Regions from separate parts of the Homo sapiens genome. Here all the other regions are linked to region 1. Evidence: promoter capture Hi-C in 16 types of primary human blood cells and fetal thymus (Javierre and others, 2016). All regions are on one chromosome and are shown on one strand. Each heading gives the region's core, a stretch centred on a gene start or on the middle of the fragment in contact. The rest is flanking DNA. Distances are from core to core; before and after follow the strand shown.

Region 1 (2,767 bases), core at 194-2,693:
ATTTTCCACTCTGTTTTATTCAAATGGCATCATGTTATACATACGTTTGCACCTTGATGCTAAAGACTGAATATGTCTTGGCAAAATTCATGTGTTGGAGCCCTAAGCCCCAGTACAATGGTATTTGGAGGTTGGGCCTTTGGGAGGTGAACAGGTGATGAGAGTGGAGCCCTCATTAATGAGATTAGTGGCCTTATAAGAAAAAAGATGATAGAGATGATCTGTTTCCACCATCCACTGTGTGAGGTTACAGCAAGAAGGCACCTGTTGGCAAACCAGGAGGGGAGCCCTCACCAGGAGCTGATTTGCCAGCACCTTAATTATGGACTTCTCAACCTCCAGAACTATGATAAATAAATGATAAATAAATTTCTTTCTTTCTTTCTTTCTTTCTTTCTTTCTTTCTTTCTTTCTTTCTTTCTTTTCTTTTCTTTTTCTTCTTCTTCTTCTTTCTTTCTTTTTTTTTTTTTAGAGGAACTTTCACTCTTGTCGCCCAGGCTGGAGTGCAATGGCACAATTTCGGCTCACTGCAACCTCCACCTCCTGGGTGGAGCTATTTTCCTGCCTCAGCCTCCTGAGTAGCTGTGTTTGCAGGCATGTACCACCAGGCCCAACTAATTTTTGTATTTTTAGTAGAGATGGGGTTTCATCATGTTGGCCAGGCTGGTCTCGAACTCCTGACCTCAAGTGATCTGCCCCTCTCAGCCTCCCAAAGTGCCGGGATTATAGGCATGAGCCACCATACCTGGCTGAGAAATAAATTTATATTGTTTAAGCCACCCGGTCCATAGTATTTTTGTTATTTCAGCCATAACTGACTAAGGCACTTTCTAAAACAGACAGACAAACTAACACATAAAAAGCCCTACTGAAGTAATTACATAATCAAGTTGTCACTTTAATTTTTTGTGTCACTTTTCCTGGATCAAAGTTTTTCTCTGATGCAAAACATGATATTCTCTTTACTCCATATATTGGCTCAGGTATCATAAAAAAAAAATCAAAACCCTAGGGCTGTTTTCACAAATATGCCATTTAAAATGCATGGTGCCAAACCTCTTTCCTGAACATTTTCTTCCAGCAGATCTGAGTTGGTGTGTGGAAATCTATTTAAAAAAAACAAAAACAAAAACAAGTTCTTCAGGTGATCTAGCTAGATCTAGCACATGCAAGTTCTTACTCAGATTCTGGCAATTGTTGTCTAAGAATATATCGACAGAGTACATACTTTTAAAAAGTTAATGGACTGGTGTATAACCAAAGCCACAACACCCCACACATGTGACTGTGATCTTTGCTCCTTTGCAAAGTCCTCACAGAGTTGAAGAGTTCTGCACTTTGTTCCTTCCCTGGCACACCTGTGTCTGCATTCCTTCTATCTCCCGGCATTCTCCACTCCTGTCTCTGTGTGTTTAAAAACCGGTGTGGGAAGTGTGCACGCCTGTGACGTCAGACTCCAGACCATGTATTTCCTGACTCCCATCTTGGTAGCCATTCTCTGCATTTTGGTTGTGTGGATCTTTAAAAATGCCGACAGAAGCATGGAGAAAAAGAAGGGGGAGCCTAGAACCAGGGCCGAAGCTCGCCCCTGGGTGGATGAAGACTTAAAAGACAGCAGTGACCTGCACCAAGCAGAAGAAGGTAAAGACACCAGCTATGCTGCTTAGCTTCGCTGTCGTGTTGTGTTGATGATGAGTGTGAGTCAATGGCAGGGCTTATGGAGAGGAAGAAACACACACAGGCCAGCTTCAACATCAACCTCTATTGTGCTAATGAATCAGTGCTTGGCACAGACAGGTCATCTCTCTCCAGTGATGAGCTTGTCACCTGCTGGGACCAACCCTTTTTTATTTTTGATGCCCAGTGAAAAAGCTGTTGAGAGGCTGAAGTTTTCCCTGGCTACAATTCTGTTCTGGTTGTTAAAATCTTTCTGCAGGAATTCATCCCAGGCTGGCAGTGGGCAGGGACTAAGAGGCCAGGTTTTGATCAGGAACTTTGAAATCTACCAAGTGGCATCACCTAGGAGGCTGCTACCTTTCCCTGTGCCAGGCCCTGGAAGTGAAAGCCTGGGATGGCCTCTGTCCTCAACAAACTGAATGTCCAGTTCAGCTGCCAAGATGATACACTAGAATCAGAGAGAGTAACAAAGAGACAGACCCGGTGGAACTGATTCTAAGGTGTTTAGAGTAGGCCTGGGAGTTTGACGGTGCAGTCAGGGAAAGGACAAACCAGGCTGGGAGGATGAATAGGGTACAAATAGCAAGTGCTGGGAGGCCTGTCAGGCAACAAGGAGCCAAAGGAGCAGAAGCACCTGGAGGCCTGGGGCAGGGGTAAGAGAGGAAGTGGAGAATTGAGGGTGGAGGGAGAGGGTAAGAATGGAAGTAGAGAATTGAGGGCGGGAAGGTTATGGCCACCTTGAGAAGAAGAGGTGATGAAGGAGGCAGGTAGGAAGGGAGAGAGCGTGGAGGAAGCTTGAGCCATCTGTGTTTGAGAAGCTTTGTCTGGGATGGGTTCGATTTGGAAGAGGCTCTGTGATCTTCAGCTGGGCTAATGATGCCCCCATCCCCAAACAGAGGCCACCTGGACATGTGAGTGTGTGTGAGTGTATGTGTGTGAGAGTGTGTGTTTATGAATGTGCATGTGTGTGTGCGCGTGCGTGTGTGTGTGTGCATGAGAGTGGATGTGTGTGCGCGTGCATGTGAGTGTTCATTAATGTGCATGTGTGAGTGTGTGTGCATGAGTGTGTGTGCACGAGTGGGTGAGTGTG
Region 2 (2,746 bases), core at 100-2,599, 310 kb before region 1:
TTAAACAGCAACACCAGCTCCTCCTTGGGTCTCCAGCTCCATGACTCTCAAACTAAAACAATAATGCTCATTTCTGGGTCTCCACTCCATGCACCTCACACTACAACAGCACCAGCTCCTCCCCAGGTCTCCAGCTCCACAATCCTCAAACTAGAACAACACCAGGTCCTCCCTGGTTCTCCAGCTCTATGATCCTCAAACTAGAACAACACTTCTCCTCCCTGGGTCTGTAGCTCCACAACCCTCAAACAAGGGCAACACAGCTCCTCCCAGGATCTCCAGCTCCACAACGTTCGAATTAGTACAACACAAGCTCCTCCTCGAGTCTTCAGCTCCACGACTCTATAACTGGAACAACACCAGCTCCTCCTTGGGTCTCCAGCTCCATGACCCTAAAACTAAAAAAACAATGGCTCCTCCTTGGGTCTCTAGCTCCATGACCTTAAAACAAGAACAATACCACTCATCCCCAGGTCTCCAGGTCCACGACCTGAAAACTAGAACAACACCGGCTCCTCCCTGAGTTTCCAGCTCCACGATCCTTAAACTAGAACAACAGCGCTCCTCCCTAGGTCTGCAGCTTCACGACCCTCAAACTAAAAAAACAGCGACTGCTCCCCGGGTCTCCAGCTCCACGACTCCCAAATTAGAACGAAACTGGCTCCTCCCCAGGTCTCCAGCTTCACGACACTCAAACCAGAACAACAGTACCAGCTCCTCCCCGGGTCTCCGGCTCCACGACCCTCAAACTAGAACAACACCGGCTCCTCCTCGGATCTCCAGCTCCATGACCCTCAAAGAAGATCAACACCGGCTCCTCCCCAGGTTTCCAGCTCCATGTCCCTCAAACTAGAACAACAGCACCAGCTCCTCCCCAGGCCTCCAGCTCCAGGACCCTCAGACTTGAACAGCAGCATCAGCTCCTCCCTAGATCTTCAGCTCCACAACCCTCAAACTAAAACAGCATCACCAGCTCCTCCCTGGGTCTCCAGCTCTATGACCCTCAAACTACAACGGGAGCACAAGCTCCTCCCTGGAGCCCCAGTTCAATGACTCTCAGACCTGAAAGGCAGCAACACTCTTCCCCAAGGCTCCAGCTCCATTACCCTCAGATTTGAACAGCAGTAGCATCAGCTCCTCCCTGGGTCTCCAGCTCCTCAACCCTCAAACTAGAACAGCAGCACCAGCTCCATCCGGATCTCCAGATCTATTACCCTAATACATGAGTGGGTTCTTTCCCGGTGCTCCAGTTCCATGATACTCAAACTAGAACAGCAGCACCAGCTCCTCCCTGAGTCTTCAGCTCCACGACCCTCAAACTAGGAGAACACCAGCTCCTCCCCAGGTCCCCAGCTCCATGACCCTCATGAACAATCCCTTCTTATGAAATTCAGCAGTCAAGAAAACTGCAGAGGAAGTAAATGAATAAATGTTTTGCTTTCAGATTGATATTTCTTTTATGTTCACACAAGTCAGGAAACTTTTCTGCTTTCCCCAACCTTGCAATCTACTTGTGTTCAAATATAAGATAGAAATCCACCATTTGAAATGACCTTTAAAAACTTAGTAATATTTTTTAATATGATCTTATGTCACAGCTGTAGAAATGATCTTATTTCTCTCTGCCTGTGCAGAAGTCTTATGAACATTCAAACTATGAATTTAGTTTGTTGAGATTCCCAGAATACGCATTATCCCCAAATATTACTGCCCTCCTTAAAATCTTCTAACACGTTCCCATCACTCGAGCATAAATGCCAGCTCCCATCCACAGCCCACAGTGCCCAGCACGGCCCTGCTCTCTTTCCTGCCAGAAAGGCCTCTGTCAGTTCTTCAAACCACACAGGCTCAGGCCCGACTCCGGGCCTCTGCCTCTGCTGTGCCCTCTGCGTGGGGTGCCTTTCCCCGGCTCCCCATCCTCCTCTCAACCTGCTCAGTTCCAGCCTGCAGAGCACCCCTCAGGTCGATGAACACACGACATCCTCCCCACATAGGCCTTTGCACACGCTATTCTCTCTGCCTGAAACACTTCCCTCTCTCATCGTCTGGGTTCACTTTTCTAATTACCATTTATCTTTGGAGTCTCCACTGAAATATCACTCCCTGCCTGCCCCCATCACTTGGACTTAACCTTGGTTAGGTTGCCAACCCCTGTCTCCTGACTCCAGGAAGCTAGATGCGATTCTAGCTCTTGGAACTTTCCCATTGCAGTGTTTTGCACACTCGTAATTATTCTATCAGGTTGGTGCAAAGTCATCACAGTTTTTGCCATTACTTTTAATGAACTGCAGCACCGGCTCCTCCCTGCTTTTTATTGCCATTACTTTTAATGGCAAAAACCGAGATTACTGCTGCACCAACGTAATAGAATAATTTATATTTATTCATCCATCATCTGTCTTCCCCTCTAGAAAGTAATCTCTATGAGAATAGGGAGCAAATCTACTCAAATCACTCCACCTTTCTAGCACATTGTCAATAATTATTTACTGACTGACTGATACAGAAATATCTTCATTGTTGCTGGGATGACCCACATAACGTGACAGGCCCCTTTGAAGTTCAATGTCACAGACAGTTAGCATTTGCTTTTCTCTCCCGGACCTTTGGTTTGGCTGGGCTTAGGCTGATCTATTCTGGGCTTGACTTTAGGCTGAGGGTTGGAACCGTGCGAGCTCCACATGTCCTTTTTGCTCAGGATTGTTTTGACAGCTTGAACTTTTTTTTTTCCTTTTGGTTCCAAATA
Region 3 (3,016 bases), core at 33-2,532, 450 kb after region 1:
CCCCACCCATTGTTTACCTGTCTGCTGGGAAAATCAAAATTGCTAACAAGATTCTGAAAGGCAGTTACAAAATGAGACCCCCTTACATACCTGTCTTTCTCCCACGCTAGGCGTGTGTGCCTCAGGAAGTTCCCTTTAAGTATTCAAATGGTTAATATAGTCAATATAACATCGTACTTTCTCCCCAAGTTGTCGATCCTTTCTATCTAAAAACATCTTTTCAGTTACAACTTATTGAGCATACACACTGTGCTGAGTACTTTATATTCTTATTTCACCCTCACCAAAATATGTTATGAGGTAGTTCTTATTCTTCCCATTCTAGAAAAAATAAAAACAGAGGCTGAGAGACATTAAATAAACTGCCCAAGTTTATATAACTAGTACATGACCAAGCCTGGATTGGTCTATCTGGCTCCAAAGAGCATCCTAACCACATTATTCCCACTGGCAATAAAAACACCTTTTTTTGTTTTGTTTTGTTTTGAAACAGCGTCTCACTCTGTCACCCAGGCTGGAGTGCAGTGGTGCAATCTCCATACAAGAAAAAGCACACTGCCACCTCCACCTTCTGGGTTCAAGTATTCTTGTGCCTCAGCCACCCGAGTAGCTGGGACTACAGGCGCACACCACCACACCTGGCTAATTTTTGTATTTTTAGTAGAGATGAGGTTTCACCATGTTGGCCAGGCTGGTCTCGAACTCCCGGCCTCAAGTGATCCACCTGCCTCAGCCTCTCCCAAAGTGCTAGGATTACAGGCACAAGCCACCACACCCAGCCTCAAACACGCTTGTCTAATATACTTTATTCACTATAATGTAATCATAATTTTCTATTTAAGCAGGATTATCATTAAAGTGAACTTTCCACATCTTTCCTCGAGATTATTTCTTATTTTCCTAAAGTTTTCAAAATGTATTTCTATTATTTCTGTGAAATGAATGCATAGTGGGAAATTTTAAACATCAAGAAATGTATCACCAGTCTAATAATGTCAACACAGCTGTGGGAAACTCATTAGTTACAGCCTCCCAGCTGCCTTCCGTTCTTTTAATTCAATGATGGTCCTTGGCTGACACCTAGTGGAAATCCTGGAAACAGTACTTTAAAAATTAAATGTCCAGACAAAAAAAAATTCTTGAAGTCAGCTTTACAGATACCAGGGAACTTCTTGGAAATAGCCATATTGCCCATTAGTATATGTGGTAAATAAATTTAACTCTTCTCCAAATTAATTGAAAATAAAGGTGAAGGTATTTTGCATTTTATATATTAGTATGTTTCTGTAATTGCACTTCCCAGAGAGAGACTGAGCTAACATTTGTGTTTGCAAGTAATTTCAACTCATAATCTCAAACTCTGAATGTATGAGAGAGATAGCTATCAGGTTACAAAAATTGAAGCATTTGTTTTCTCTAAGGTGACTGTGTTGAGGCTCCCCCAAGCCCCACACTTTTTCACTAAACGTGATCGCCACTTAGCCGAAATATTTGTACTGGGATATCACAGATGGTAGCAAAATAGAGTAAAATTATTTTAAAAGTTATTTTTAGCATAGTGTTTTGTAGGTTAAATTATACTACCCTTAAAAAATGAAAATAACTTTAAAGAGGCAAGAAAGGCTACAATCCCCTAGGACAGTGGTCTTCAACCTTTTGGGCACCAGGGATTGGTTTTGTGGAAGATAATTTTTCCACGGATGGAGGCAGGGGGAGGCTTTTGGGATGATGAAAGCACATTACGTTTATTGTGCACTTTATTTCTATTACTACATGGTAATATATAATGAAATCGTTCTACAGCTCACCATAATGTGGAATCAGTGGGAGCCCTGAGCTTGTTCTAGCCCTGAGCAACTAGACAGTCCCATCTGGGGGTGATGGGAGACAGCGACACCCCAAGTGTGTTGCTTATGTCCAGTCTGCTCTCATCTTATTTTGGTCACTGTCACTGCAGAAAACCCTGCTTCACAAAGATAGGATGTTGGAAATGGAAGCAGGCTTTTGTGCTTTTGTGGCAATCTCAGGATATTCGCCTGGACTTTAATCCAGAATGTAAGGAGGTTTGAAGTTGTCTCAAACATACTTTTTTTTTTTTTTTTTTTTTTTTTTTTTTTGAGATGGAGTCTCATTCTGTTGCCTAGGCTGGAGTGCAGTGGTGCTGCAACCTCTGCCTTCCCAGGTTCAAGCAATTCTCCTGCCTCAGCCTCCTGAGTAGCTGGGATGTCAGGCACACACCACCACGCACAGCTAATTTTTGTATTTTTAGTAGAGACGGTTTCACCGTGTTGGTCAGGCTGGTCTTGAACTCCTGACCTCGTGATCTGCCCGCCTCAGCCTCTCAAAGTGCTGAGATCATAGGCGTGAGATACCACGCCCGGCCTCAAACATACTTTTAAGGCCACCAGATGCAGCTGTACAATTGAAGTACATCAACTCACTTGCCACGATAAAGCCTGCCACCAGATGCAGCTTAATTGCTCCTTGACACTCACTGACAGGGTTTTGATATGAATCTGCAAGCAATTGATTTATTATGGTCTCTGTGCAGTCAAACCTCTCTGCTAACGTTAATCTGCTCCTCAGTGCTAGCATCACTGCCTCAGCTCCACTTCAGATCATCAGGCATTAGATTCTCACAAGGAGTGCTGCAACCTAGATCCCTCGCATGCATAATTCACAGTAGGGTTCACACTCCTATGAGTATCTAATGCTGCCACTGATCTGATAGGAGGCAGAGCTCAGGCTGTAATGCGAGCCATGAGGAGCCACTGTAAATCCAGACGAAGCTTCTCTCGCTTGCCCACCACTCACCTCCTGCTGTGCGGCCCAGTTCCTAACAGGCTACGAACTAGTACTAGTCTGTGGCTCGGGGGTTGGGGACCCCTGCCCTAGGAGAGTGGGTGGAACTCACCAGTTGAGCTGATCATTGAATCCTAATGACCATTCTGAAAGAGAGGCTCCCTGATCCCACTGTCCAGTTGAGCTCGGAGAGCACCCACCTAGTGAAGTGCCT
Region 4 (3,029 bases), core at 267-2,766, 460 kb after region 1:
GAAAGAGTTTTCTCTAAGGTGATCTGAAGTATGAAAAACGCAATCAGTTTTAACCTGTGCTATCTCCAACTTTTCCAGTATATCAGTAATTTTTTAGGAGGAGGAGGAGTGTGTATGATCTTCTGAGGTTTGGAAGCATATAGAATAACATTGTTTCTGGCTTCAGGATCTCAACAAAAATGCCAACTCGTGCTAACAAAAAGAGGGGTTTTTTTGCATACTTTTTTTTTTTTTTTTTTGAGACAGGATCTCACTGTCACCCAGGCTGGAGTACAGTGACACAATCACAGCTCACTGCAGCCTCAGCCTCCCCAGGCTCAAGCAGTCCTCCCACCTCAGCCTCCTGAGGTGGGACCAGAGGCACTAACCACCATGCCCAGCTACTTTTTACATTTTTTGTAGAGAAGGGGTTTCACCATGTTGCCCAGGCTGGTCTCGACTCCTGGGCTCAAGCAATCCTCTTGCCTCAGCCTCCCAAAGGGCTGGGATTACAGGTGTGAGCCACCACGCCAGCCATTGTACTTTCCTTAGTTGCTCGCACTATAAATCAATGGTTTTCTCACATATCTCCATTACTACTCAATTTTTTTTTTTTTTTTTGAGATAGGGTCTGGCTCTGTCACCCAGGCAGGAGTGCAGTAGCATGAACATGGCTTACTGCAGCCTCTGCCTCCTGGGCTCAGGTGATCCTCCCACCTCAGCCTCTCTAGTAGCTGGGACTACAGGTGTGTACCACCACGCCCCGCTAATTTTTTTGTGTGTGTGGTTTTTTTGTAGAGATGGGATTTTACCGTGTTGCCCAGGCTGCTCTCAAACTCCTGGGCTCAAGTGACTCTCCCACCTTGGCCTCCCAAAGTGCTAGGATTACAGGCGTGAGCCGCCACACCTGGCCTACTGCTCAATTTTTTAAAATAGCTGCTGTAATGCATTCAACACTATCTCATTTAGTATTTTCATATATGCTTCTGAGTTTAATGCTTTAGTTAGACTCCTTTGTGGAGCACAACCAAACCAGAATCTTAGGTGTGATATTGTAGGATCAGGACTATGGGAATGAGATGCTCATGGTTAGACTTTTTTTGAAGGCCAAAATTTAACACTGATCTCTGGGGAAGAGCCTAGCTGTGAATAAAGCCCCTGATTGTCATAGAAAGAAAAGTCCAAAGGTAGTGGCTCTTGCCTGAGGAGCTTTTACCTCCAGGCACAGAGAGATTTCTGGCTATAGGCTCAGGAATATGCCTTTCAAATAGTATGCCCTTTTCATCATATTTTAAGAAATCCTGCCCCAGATTTTCTAACCAAGGACCACCTTAGTATCAAATGAGAGGAGTCTATTCTACAATTAAAAGTGAAAGCTGGGTGATGGCTTAGTATCAGGACAGGCTCTGATCATTAGCTTCATTATCAGCACATTGGGACAGGTTGATGCCACTAACTATTAAATGCTGTCTTTGGGATTGACATTGACATCCATGGAAACTGAAGAATAGGAAGGGCATATCCAAATCTTAAATGAATGCACAAGTTACATAACAAGAATCTGTAGGGAACTTTTTTTTTTAAGTTTGAGAGTATTTAAGAATTGTCTAAAGTTTTAATCTTCAGTACAATTTCTTAACAGATAGGGAAACAAAGTGCTGGAATTGATGCCTGAAGGATTTCACAGACTCTGAGTTCTTCTTTTTAATCAAATGAAGGTTTTGTATGCATGTGAGACTAGAATGCATGTATTTTTCTCCTTGCCATGATGCACTATGAGTAATTCAAGTCCCTATTCTGATGCTAGCGTTGCTAAGCTGGTTTGCTGTTACAGGGAAAGTGACTGAGTTCCCGCTGCAGGAGGACAATTTTGGTGGGGTAGGGGAATATATATGGCCTTAGAAACAGTTGTATATTGGCAATTGCAAGCACTGACTAAGTCTGGGTTGGGGCTCCTCAGCATAAGAGGAAATGTAATGCTGAAGTTTTTGATGATGATGGGTTATGCCCACAGACTACCACTGAAAAAGTAGTAATTCCCTGGGCCAGGTTGTTTTGAATATGGACCATCTGTTAAAATACAAAGCTCCAATCTTGACAGAAGCATGTCCTTTGATACTGAATCATTAGGGCCTACGACTACCTCGAGTAGTCTTCTTTTTTACCCACCTTTTTAAGTATTAAATGATTTCACATTGGGGTTTTCTTTTCACTTTTGGTTGGCTCTCCTTTTTGTTTTGCCTGCTGGTGTTGTCTTGGGATGCCCCAGGATCTTTTCTCAGCTTTGCGTCTGGGTCCTTTCTTGACATGGTGGGCTCCTGTCGACGTTCTCCCCAGCAAGGAGGAGGAAATCTCTCCCGAGTCATCTTCTGAGAGTGCTGTCTTCCCTGCCATCTGGCAGAGGCACGTCCCTAGGACCTGATGAGTTATATCCACACCTCGTCCAGCTGGGTGATCGAGACCACTTCCTGTGCCCACTAGGCTTTCCGTCAGTTGACATGATGACTCCTTTTCTCTTTCTTGTTTATCTGGGCACAGGACGTCGTAATCGAATGGACCGATTCTCCAGACTTCTCCGTGTGGGCCTTGCCGCTTTGCCAGGAGCTTGCTCTCGGTGCTGTGCGGAAGGAGGAGCACCTTATTCACCTGCCGAAACTCTCGAGCATCTTTATTGAACTCTCTAGCCGGGGTCTCCAGGCCCTGGGTCAGATTTCTGCCTATAAATCACCCAACCAGGTCCAGTTGCTCCCATATCTTAGAGCCTGTCATAGCATGCTGGCCATCTTGTTCCATCAGACCTTCCTCCTGATAGTCTTTGAGAGCAAGGAGGCCTTTGGGTTTCTGGGTTTTTTGGTGATGTTTCACATGGGAGAAAACTCCATACAGGCTTGAGAAATTTTCCTCCTTGTGTAGAGTAGGGAAGGCACAATTTTATGCTTTTGTCTGCATCTCGAGCAACATCAGAAACATTTATTTTAATCCTCTGTCTGGAGGATTAAAATGTTGTTTGATATTTCCCTTGGCAAACATTATTCTAAATTTTTGTCTGA
Region 5 (3,113 bases), core at 337-2,836, 420 kb after region 1:
ATCTAATACTTCCTGGCTGTTATTTTTTTATTAGTGAACTTCTGCAAGATTTGGAAAACTGTGAAAATGATCCTGTGGCCATAGCAGAGTGTTTTGTGTCCAAGGTAAGCAGGGTTCATCCTTCTGGGCCAACTGAGACAGATACAGAGTACAGAATTTTTCATTTTAAAGTTAAAATGACTGGTTTGTTTCATATCAGATAGAGTTAGCCACTAATCTTTCTCTGGTTTCTTTGTTTGAGTAGCAAAAATGTATTGTTCCTGGAGCCAGGGAGATGCTAATCTAGTAGTTGTTCTAGAACTTGTACAGTAACTGAATAATGTTACTCTTTGCTGGGAAAAACTTAAAGCTTGGGAGGGGAGAGTCCGGAGTAGAAGAATGTTAGAAAAATGGGCCGGGCATGGTGGCTCACACCTATAATCCCAGCACTTTGGGAAGCCGAGGTGAGTGGATCATCTGAGGTCAGGAGTTTGAGACCAGCCTGGCCAACATGGTGAAACCCCGTCTCTACTAAAAACACAAAAATTAGCCAGGCGTGGTGGTGTGCCTGTAATCCCAGCTACTAGGGTGGCTGAGGCAGGAGAATCACTTGAGCCCAGGAGGCGGAGGTTGCAGTGGGAGCCAAGATAACGCCATTGCACTCCAGCCTGGGTGACAAGAGTGAGACTCTGTCTCAAAAAAAAAAAAAAAAAAAAAGAAGATGAATGTTAGAAAAATATAAAATACCACTGAACTGGTTTAGTTTAGTGAAAGTTTAGTTTTAGTGAAAGTCCAAGAGAATCTAAATATTTTACGTATAATATATGTGGCACTAGCCTAGTCTCTATAATTATCTTTCTTTTGAGGGATAGAGAGAAGCAGAATTAATCTCCTACATTTTAAAAATGTACTCTTCCACTGTTTTCTTAAGCTGCATCAGTGGTTTCGAAAAATACAAGGAAAGGATTTGACTTTCAAAGCTTAAATGACAGTGAGCTCGTGCTCCGAAGTGGAATAGGTGATGGAATTCTGAAACCTACCCTTTCCTACAATGTGGCCTTTCCTACATTGCTTTCTCAGCATGCTGCCTAGTATATAGAGATTTCTGTCTTGTTTAAATTCTCTTAAACATTCAACCGCTTTTGTTTGGAAAGCCTTTAGCAGAAATTGTTTTGCAGCAAACTTTCATGTGGTTTCTGCATTTGTAGTTTGAAATGCACGAAGGTTTAATAAAAGTTCATGATGGCGCTTTGAGACCCACTGGGAATTAGCACACGCGGAGTCCGGTGTGAACTGGGAGATGTCGCTCCAGTCTGACCTGGCTCTGGACTGTTCCACAGGGTCATTTCTGATGGTGGCAGATGCATCCTGATGGCTTCCAAACACAACACCCTGGGTTTTATTGGAGCAAAGTTCCTTAAAGGCACAATCCATGGGCTTATATGTAAAGGCACAATCCATGGGCTCTCCTGACTTTGTGTGTGTGTGTTCACATGTAAAGTGTGCACACACGTTTACCTGTGTGTAAGCTTACACATACAATCCTTTTCACAAGTTGCCTGTGTCAAAATTGAGCAGGGATTTGAAAAAAAGAAGAAAAATGAAAGAAGGCAAAATGGCTAAAAAGATATGCTGGGTATATCAAAGGAGATATGTTAGAATAACCACAGCACATAAACAACGTAGAAGCTTTCGGAAACGTTTGGGCTTTTACTGGTAACTGTAATCACAAGTTGATTAAAGATGTTCCAGCGTATGCTTAGCTCTCGCTTAATTATTCACATAAAAGTTTGTTTATGTGCCACGTTGCCAACTCCCAAATCTTCCTTTTCATTGTAATATTGCCAAGTTTAATTAGAAGACTGACTTGAGCTCTCTGCACTTTCGCATGGAAACAGGGAATCCTGAGGGAGTGCTGGGCTCAGGCACTGCCTGCCTTTCACTCAGCAGCCTGACATTTAGAAGATGTTACGTCTTCTGAAACACAACCAGCTGTTCAACTCTAGGGAGGAATGGAAAATTGCTTTAATTGGGAGGCCGTTAATGAAAGAGGTGAAGCTGACAGTTGACTTCTGCTTTTATCTGAACCACTGGGGCCTGCACAGAGATTCATCTTTGACCTTGCTTACTGTCGTGGTATGTGTAGGTTACAGAAGTCCTTATCGACAGATGGAGAACATGGTTGCTTTTTACCTGATGCTCATGGAAGAATGAACCCACAGTTCTCCTGAAGGACAGAAATTAAAGTTTCGTGCTGGGCAGGCCAAACCTTCTCCCAGTAAACATTTGTCTGTTTTAGGTCTCTGGAAACACCTAGAATGGCTCACTTTGCTGCCTTTACCTCCACCTTCACATCCACCTCTCATCTTGACTGGCAGCAAGGCTGACCCAGGGCAACGTTTAGGAGGGAGACAAAGTCTGTCTTTAGAGCCTCAACCTCCCCTTAGCTGCCTACTCTCCCTCGTTGTGTGGCTCTCTCTCTGTTGGTGCCTTCTTCCTTTTAGAGCCCAGGGAGTGAGTGTGTGTGCACACACACACGCATACACACACACACATGCACACACACAAGCATGCACATGTACCACCCACTTACTGAAATTATCCTCAAGGAAGTGTGGATATTGGATAGTCATATGATTAGAGTGAATTTAAGTCAAAGTTACCCGTATGCTGTTTACATATTAAGTCTTTCTTGTAGTGTCCAGTGAAAACTTCTCAGGAATCAGAGAGGGAGAGGAGGACCCTGGGGCAGAAGAAACCCTAAAATCATACATATTGCTTTACTGTGGCTACCTATTCAATAAATATTTGAGAGACTTAGGTGCTTGATTGGTCAGCACTGATTATATCATATTTTGGCTCTTTCATAATTAAATGTCTCATTTCTATGTCATCTCTGATTACAATTTGAAAGATTTGAAGAACTAGAAGGAAATATCTTTTCTTATGATTTATATATATTTGTATAACACATTCCCTTAAATCCTTCTAAGCCGATTTGGGGTGGCATATTTAATAACTAATGGTATCTAACTAGGAGCTGTTGACTTTTATGTGAAACCATCATTTGTAAGGTCCACAGAGCTTCACAAACCTAAGGGCAAACTTGCATTTAATTCCAGTTAAAGATATAT
Region 6 (3,121 bases), core at 115-2,614, 390 kb after region 1:
CGCTGGGGCAGAATCACCCCTGAAGGACATTGTGGGGTGGGTGTGTGTGTGTTGGGAGAGGCAGGGGGAGCCATCCCTTTATACTTTAAAATATTTTCTTTTGAAAAAAGCCTTTATCTCTTTGGATCCACAAGAAATGTTACAAGTGTCCCTTCAGTTTCATAATGGGGCTTACGGTGATGCCCTTAACCTTTCAGAAAGCCCGAAGTGGGTGCCTCGTAAGGAGGGGACCTGCCGAGCTGGCCGCCCAGCAGCTGCCGACCATAAATACACAACTGCTGAAAAGACTGCTGCTTTTGTCTGATTTTCCATAAAGCAGTGGATAAATTACTCAACCCAGGGGTCTGTTTATGGCCTCGTAAATGCTGTTCCAAATGCAAATGCACAGAGAGAAAAGGGTGAGAGTTAATCTACTTTTGATTAGAGAAGCGTTTCTTGTGCAAAGCGGGAGTGAGGTGGGTGGGAAGAGAGTTAAAAACGAAATGCATAGTTTAGGGACCTTTGTCATCTTCAAGAGGTGGTGTTGTAAAAAAATGCTGCCCCTGCGACAAAGGCTGGGAGCAAGGGAGGAATGTTGGGCTGGGTCAAGATTCTGTACAGCCCTCGCCTCTTAGCTAGAGAGGGAGCAGCGGGGGCACCGTTAACCCTTGCCTTCCTGTGCTCTGCACATTGCTCATTTCTGGGAATTCACTCCATGAGGTTGCAGAGTCTACACTCATTAGGTGCTGGGAACACTAAAGCACAGTGCCTACTAACTGTTGATACCAGTTTCAGGGAGAGAAGGAATGACAAAGATATTTTTATAGCACTACATGATGATGACCCTGTGCTTAAAGACTTAGAATACCTGACCCAGACAGGGGACAGGAAGGGTCAGAGGAGGATTCCTGGGAAGAATCTTGAAGGATGAATGAGCCAGGTGGTGATGAGCAGGACAGCCAATACTGGCAGTGAGAAAAGAATAGACAATAATAAAACGACATGAGAGGGCAGGGAACAGGGACATTCCTGAAAGAGCAGTGAGTGAGTGCCTGTGTTGGTAGAGGTGAGGGAGTTGAGGGGGAGCAAGACAGTGGTCAAAGATGAGCCCAGGAAGGTCGGGAGGGATTTAAGAGTCCTTGAAGGATTTTACCCAGGAGGCATGACATCAAATTTGCGTTTTAGAAAATCATGTTAGATAGGTTTGAAAAGTTGTGGGGAATCAGACCCACAGTAGAGAGCTGGGTTAGGATGTCCTTGCAGTAGTCCAGGTGAGAGATGAGAACAAGGTCAAGGCAGCGATGAGAGAGAGGACAAGTCAGTTTCAAAAAAGATATAGGTGGGAGAGGAGAGGCGGGATTTGTTGTTTGGGTGGTCACAGCAAGAGGGCAAGGGTCTTGGAAACTTTTAGATGGCATTAGGACTTTCTTTCTTTTTTTTTTTTTTTTGAGATCGAGTTTCACTGTCATTGCCCAGGCTGGAGGGCAATGGCACAATCTTGGCTCACCGCAACCTCTGCCTCCAGGGTTCAAGCAGTTCTCCTGCCTCAGCCTCCAATGTAGCTGGGATTACAGGCATGCACCACCACACCCGGCTAATTTTTTGTATTATTAGTAGAGACAGGATTTCTCTGTGCTGGTCGGGCTAGTCTCAAACTCCCGACCTCAGGTGATCCACCTGCCTTGGCCTCCCAAAGTGCTGAGATTACAGGCATGAGCCACTGTGCCTGGCCGGCATCAGGACTTTTTGTTTTTTTGAGATAGGATCTCGCTCTGTTACCCAGGCTGTAGTCCTGTGGCGTGATCATACCTCGCTGCAGCCTTGATCTCCTGGGCTCAAGCAACCCTCCCGCCCTAGTTTCCCAAGTAGCTGGGACTACAGATACATGGCACCACGCCTGGCTAGTTTTTTAATTTTTTTGTGGAGACAGGTCTCACTTTGTTGCCCAGACTGGCTTTGAACTCCTGGCCTCAAACAATCCTTCCGCCTAGGCCTCCCAAAGTGCTAGGACTATAGGCATGAGCCACCGCGCCTGGCCGGCATCCAGGACTTTTTATGCACAGGTCTCCCCTGACAATAATCTTCAGACTCTCTGCCAACGTTGATGGTTAGTAATAAGCTGCTTAAGTAAATTAGCCTTCCTACGGCACTGGTATTGCCAGTGGCAGAGAATGGTGGGGGGATAATTCTTTATTATGATTTATCAGCATATAGAGTTCATTTACTTTTGAACCCAAAAAGGCTCCAATCTGACCTACCTTGCTGCTCTGGGAAGGAACCTGGGACCTAGACGGCCACACAGCAGGCACCAACACCTGCACATGTGTGCTGAGCTGCCTTGAATGGACCATGTGTGCAGTTTAACCCCTGGAATGATGAGGAGACACTGGTGGTTGTATTCTTTCTGCTTCACGCTGAAGCTACGGAGCCTCAGCAAGGAAGTAACTCGCCCAGGGCCTGAGTCCTAGACCCAGACTGCCTGACCTTGAGGCCGATGTGTTTCCCACCTCGCTACATCGGGAGCCAGCCCTGCGGCTGAGGCCTTCATGTTGCATCCGGCAGTGCCTTACCCTGTCCTCAGATAAATCCGTCCTGGGAAAGCAAATTTACTTTCCCAGGACAGTAAATTTAATGTTTTTATTAAAGATTTAATTTTTAATTTAAAAAAATTTATTTTTTTCCATCTTGTGGTAGATAGAAGCTGCATTTACTACAAGAAAAAGCAGAGGGCACTTCTGTTCAGATTATAAAATTGCTGCTGTGGAAATTCATATCTCTTGAAAAATCACTTATGGAAACCTCGTCCGTAAGAGTCCACTCTCTTAGGTTAAAGAGGGAAGAAAATTTTCCCCACATCACCTTTTTCACCCTGTGGGGCATGAATTAGGACCAGGCCTCCTGGACAGTATGACAGAAGGACATCTTCGTGTTTACCCCCTGGCCCCATGCTCTTTGAGAAAGTCAAGTTTCTGGGGAACATCCCATCACTTTGGCCCACGCACCTTGCAGACACCCTCCAGCTCCATCTGCACGGTGCCTCTGCCTGCTCCCCTGCAGATCCTCAAGCCTGTGACTGTTTCTGGATCAATACATAACTTTTGGTTAAGATTCTTCTGTGATGAGATCAACAGCAATATAGTCA
Region 7 (3,115 bases), core at 268-2,767, 340 kb before region 1:
AGGAGCAGGGCCACCGGGAACCAAGAAGTTGCACAAGCAGTTGGACCTGATCCCCAGGACACCACGTGGCTGCACCCACTCACCCTCAGCTCACACCTGAGGCTTCAGGGAGGGTACCTGATGGTCCCCATGGATGCCACTCAGCACAAAGGAGGGGAGAATAAGCCCCCAACTATGGGACCCCCACTCCCATCACATCCACACCACCCAGAAGCCACAGGCAAGGTAGGGCCACCTTCTACTTTCCAACTGACATCAGAGACATCACTTGGAGATGACACCCTAGGGGATGGGGCACTGGGACACTGTAATCCCCTGATCTGGGATCAGCAACCTAGGACAGGGTCCAAATCTGGTCCCCCCTCTTTGAAGGTTGCCATTGCCTGCTGTTGCTCTACAAAGGGACAGGACTGGACACAGAGACGGAGAACCCATGGCCTGCAAAGATCACAGGGCATCCTTCCTCCCTTTCTAGAAAGGGTTTGCTGACCCCTGTCTACACAGTGACTATTCTCTATGACGCTGACACCCCCGTAGGAAGAACAGGCGGTCTGGGCCCCAAGGGCAGAAGTGGGTGCCTCTACTCACCAGAGTTCCCAGGGTCATCCTGGAGGAAATGGTGCTTCCCATCCCCCCTGCACAGGTTCTGAGGGGAGCTTGGGGTGTGTTTGTTGGGGTGTGTCCTCAGGCAAGAGGCAGAAGGTGCGACGTGGTGTAGGAGGTGGTGAGGTACCCTTCATGGATGGGGAGACCTCAGGGGTGACCAGCTGGGCTGAGGTGGGCAGTAAGAGGATGTGACCTGGGTGGTGGCAGTGGATGGTGAGGGGAGGGGTGGCGGGTATCTGCTGAGCCCCTGGGTGCAGGTGAGTGTCTACAGGAAAAGTGCGGGGAAAACAAAGGCAGGGAGTCCTGGGGGTGCTGGAGGGTTTGTGTGGTAGAGAGCAGGTGAGAGCAGAGCAGGCTTGTGGCTGGTGGGGGCGTCTGTGATTGTATCCCTGTGGTACCCCCCTTCACCCAGTCCTGACCCCAGCTCTGTTCCCGGGGGGGCTCTGGTTTCTCCTTCCGAAAGGCGGGTGGGACTGCCGGGCTGCACTAGGAATCCGGGCCCCACCTAGCCCTCGCAGCCCTCTGGCCCCTCCACCCTCCTGCCAGCCTCGTTTTCACCCTGCTCTTTTTCGCCCCTACTGGGGCAAGAACAGCCTTGGGGAGTGGACCCGGCGGGAAGGAGCCCAGGAGGGGAACTGAGCTGGGGGCGCAGTTCGGGGAGATCTCCCTTGTCCTTCCAGAAGCCTTCCCTCCTCTGAAACCCGCTGCAGTCCACAGTCCCTCAGGTTTGGCCCCCGCCCCGCTTAGGCTCCATCCACCAGCTCACCGTCTCGCCTAGCCCGGGACCAGCCGAACAGCAGGAACAGAAGCGGGAGGCACAGAAGCAAAGCTGGGATGGCGGCTGCTGCCATTGGGGACCAGGAGGGCTGGGGACAAGAGATTTAATCAAGGTGGATCCTGGAAGATGAAATCACCTCTGTGCTGAAAGGCTGGCTTATATACTGTTAGTTACTGGGGAATGTACCGGGGAATGAGTCACCTCGATTCTGAAAAGCCAGATTTTAATGCTACTGGGCGTAGTCACTGGGCGCGTTCCACCTCTTCGTTTCATTGTCTGGACGAAATCCAGTTTCCATGCTAGTGTCCCTTCCCTTCTTCACCCGCTCCGGCAGCTTGGTGGCCTCGTGCCCGGGCCCCACTCCTGCCAGGACACGATTCCTTCCACGACAGACTCATTTAATCATTATAGCATTTTTTATTAATGGTGAAGAAACGTGCAGAGGAATATTCAGCGGCCTCGGCGTCTCCTTGTCCCCGCCTGGGTCCGCGGCACTCTCCCTCCTTCCGCTTGCGCCGCGGGGTCCCTGGCTCACCCCGCCCTGGGCACAGCCATGGGCCTGTTCGCGTCCCCTCCACTACTTCCCCAGTCCCCGGTGGGCGTGGTTACAGTCCGGGCTGGGTTTTATTTTTTATTTCTTTATCTATTTATGTATTTGGAGATGGGGTTTCTCTCTTATTGCACAGGCTGGAGTGCAACGGCCCGATGTCGGCTCGCCGCAGCCTTGTCTCCTGGGTTCAAGCGATTCTCTTGCCTCAGCTTCTGGAGTAGCTGGGATTACGGGTGCCCACCACCAAGCCCGGCGAATTGTTTGTAGTTTTGGTAGAGATGGGGTTTCACCTTGTTGGCCAGGCTGGTCTCAAACTCCTTTCCTCAGGTGATCCACCCACCTCGGCCTCCCAAAGTGCTGGGATTACAGGCATGAGTCAGCGTGCCCGGCCTGGGCTAGGTTTTATTACAGAAACAGCAGGTAGGGTTTCAGAGGTTCAAAACAACATATTGTATAGTAAACAATTGGTGAAGATGGTAAATTCTATGTTCTATGTTTTTACCAAAATTAAGCAGCTTTAAAAATTATCTTAACAATTTATGTCTTGCTTCTGCTTCACCCAGTGCAGACTGGCCAAAAGGCTGCTCATTAAAATCGAGGACAGCATTGAGGACCTCATCCCTAGAATCTCAACCTGTGACACGCTTGCTGATTTAGAAAGCTCCTCAGAGAGATTACCTCTGAGCTCCCAGTTCAGCAGCCGCCCTGGCCCAGGTCCACCGATGGCACAGGGGGCTCAGCAGAGCAGGTTCAACTGAAAGTTCCTAGTGGTTCCCAACTGTCAGCGCATTCTGCTGGCCTCTTCCCCCTGGGCAAAGAGCCAGCCATCCTTCAAAGCCGGGCACAAATACCCCCTCCCATGTGTGTCCTGCATGTTCCCACAATACAGAACACCCTCCTGCTCCCTGAGACCTGGGTTCACAGTGGGTGCATCCAGATCTCCCTGTGTGACAATTGCTCACACATTTCTTTGCCTCTCTGCTAGAAGCATGAGGTCTTTGAGAATATACTACATCCCTTCCTAAAAAGACCTAGTGAACAACTTGCTCAATCATGTAATCAATTGTGTTTCCACGAAGAGCAGGAGCCGAGGGAGGAGTCTACACACGTGTGGGGTTCACTTTCCAGCACACCAATCCGTGGCCAACCACACCTGAATCCATGGCTGCACCCACACCTCT

Evidence for each region. Contacts are between HindIII fragments. The CHiCAGO score rates a contact against its expected background, and 5 or more counts as called.
Region 2: a contact is called between a fragment that was not itself captured here and the fragment with the promoter of IYD in region 1, in 1 of 17 cell types (erythroblasts). The highest score is 5.4, in erythroblasts.
Region 3: a fragment that was not itself captured here is called in contact with the fragment with the promoter of IYD in region 1 in 4 of 17 cell types (naive B cells, total B cells, naive CD8 T cells and 1 more); the score reaches 5.9 in naive B cells.
Region 4: a fragment that was not itself captured here is called in contact with the fragment with the promoter of IYD in region 1 in 8 of 17 cell types (naive B cells, total B cells, M1 macrophages and 5 more); the score reaches 10.6 in naive B cells.
Region 5: a contact is called between a fragment that was not itself captured here and the fragment with the promoter of IYD in region 1, in 1 of 17 cell types (total B cells). The highest score is 6.5, in total B cells.
Region 6: a fragment that was not itself captured here is called in contact with the fragment with the promoter of IYD in region 1 in 1 of 17 cell types (naive B cells); the score reaches 5.1 in naive B cells.
Region 7: a contact is called between the fragment with the promoter of RAET1L here and the fragment with the promoter of IYD in region 1, in 3 of 17 cell types (M2 macrophages, M0 macrophages and naive B cells). The highest score is 6.6, in M2 macrophages.

Annotation. Positions count from the first base shown.
Region 1 is chr6:150,367,569-150,370,335 of GRCh38, forward strand. IYD (iodotyrosine deiodinase) reads left to right here and starts at 1,444. Exons shown (of 5, transcript NM_203395.3): 1 at 1,444-1,641. The coding sequence starts at 1,464. The HindIII fragment of the contact is 5,505 bases long and covers 1-2,469 here.
Region 2 is chr6:150,054,497-150,057,242 of GRCh38, forward strand. No RefSeq gene overlaps it. Among named protein-coding and RNA genes, the nearest start is that of ULBP3, 13 kb to the right of the region's middle. The HindIII fragment of the contact is 7,426 bases long and covers 1-2,746 here.
Region 3 is chr6:150,814,241-150,817,256 of GRCh38, forward strand. The region is part of intron 11 of PLEKHG1 (pleckstrin homology and RhoGEF domain containing G1); the gene reads left to right. Among named protein-coding and RNA genes, the nearest start is that of MTHFD1L, 50 kb to the right of the region's middle. The HindIII fragment of the contact is 3,010 bases long and covers 1-2,787 here.
Region 4 is chr6:150,832,461-150,835,489 of GRCh38, forward strand. The region is part of intron 16 of PLEKHG1 (pleckstrin homology and RhoGEF domain containing G1); the gene reads left to right. Among named protein-coding and RNA genes, the nearest start is that of MTHFD1L, 32 kb to the right of the region's middle. The HindIII fragment of the contact is 3,331 bases long and covers 1-3,029 here.
Region 5 is chr6:150,786,356-150,789,468 of GRCh38, forward strand. PLEKHG1 (pleckstrin homology and RhoGEF domain containing G1) reads left to right here. Exons shown (of 17, transcript NM_001029884.3): 5 at 35-104. Among named protein-coding and RNA genes, the nearest start is that of MTHFD1L, 78 kb to the right of the region's middle. The HindIII fragment of the contact is 160 bases long and covers 1,507-1,666 here.
Region 6 is chr6:150,753,259-150,756,379 of GRCh38, forward strand. The region is part of intron 3 of PLEKHG1 (pleckstrin homology and RhoGEF domain containing G1); the gene reads left to right. Among named protein-coding and RNA genes, the nearest start is that of MTHFD1L, 110 kb to the right of the region's middle. RefSeq lists an enhancer at 1-304. The HindIII fragment of the contact is 5,969 bases long and covers 1-3,121 here.
Region 7 is chr6:150,024,015-150,027,129 of GRCh38, forward strand. RAET1L (retinoic acid early transcript 1L) reads right to left here and starts at 1,518. Exons shown (of 5, transcript NM_130900.3): 1 at 1,373-1,518. The coding sequence starts at 1,457. The HindIII fragment of the contact is 10,027 bases long and covers 1-3,115 here.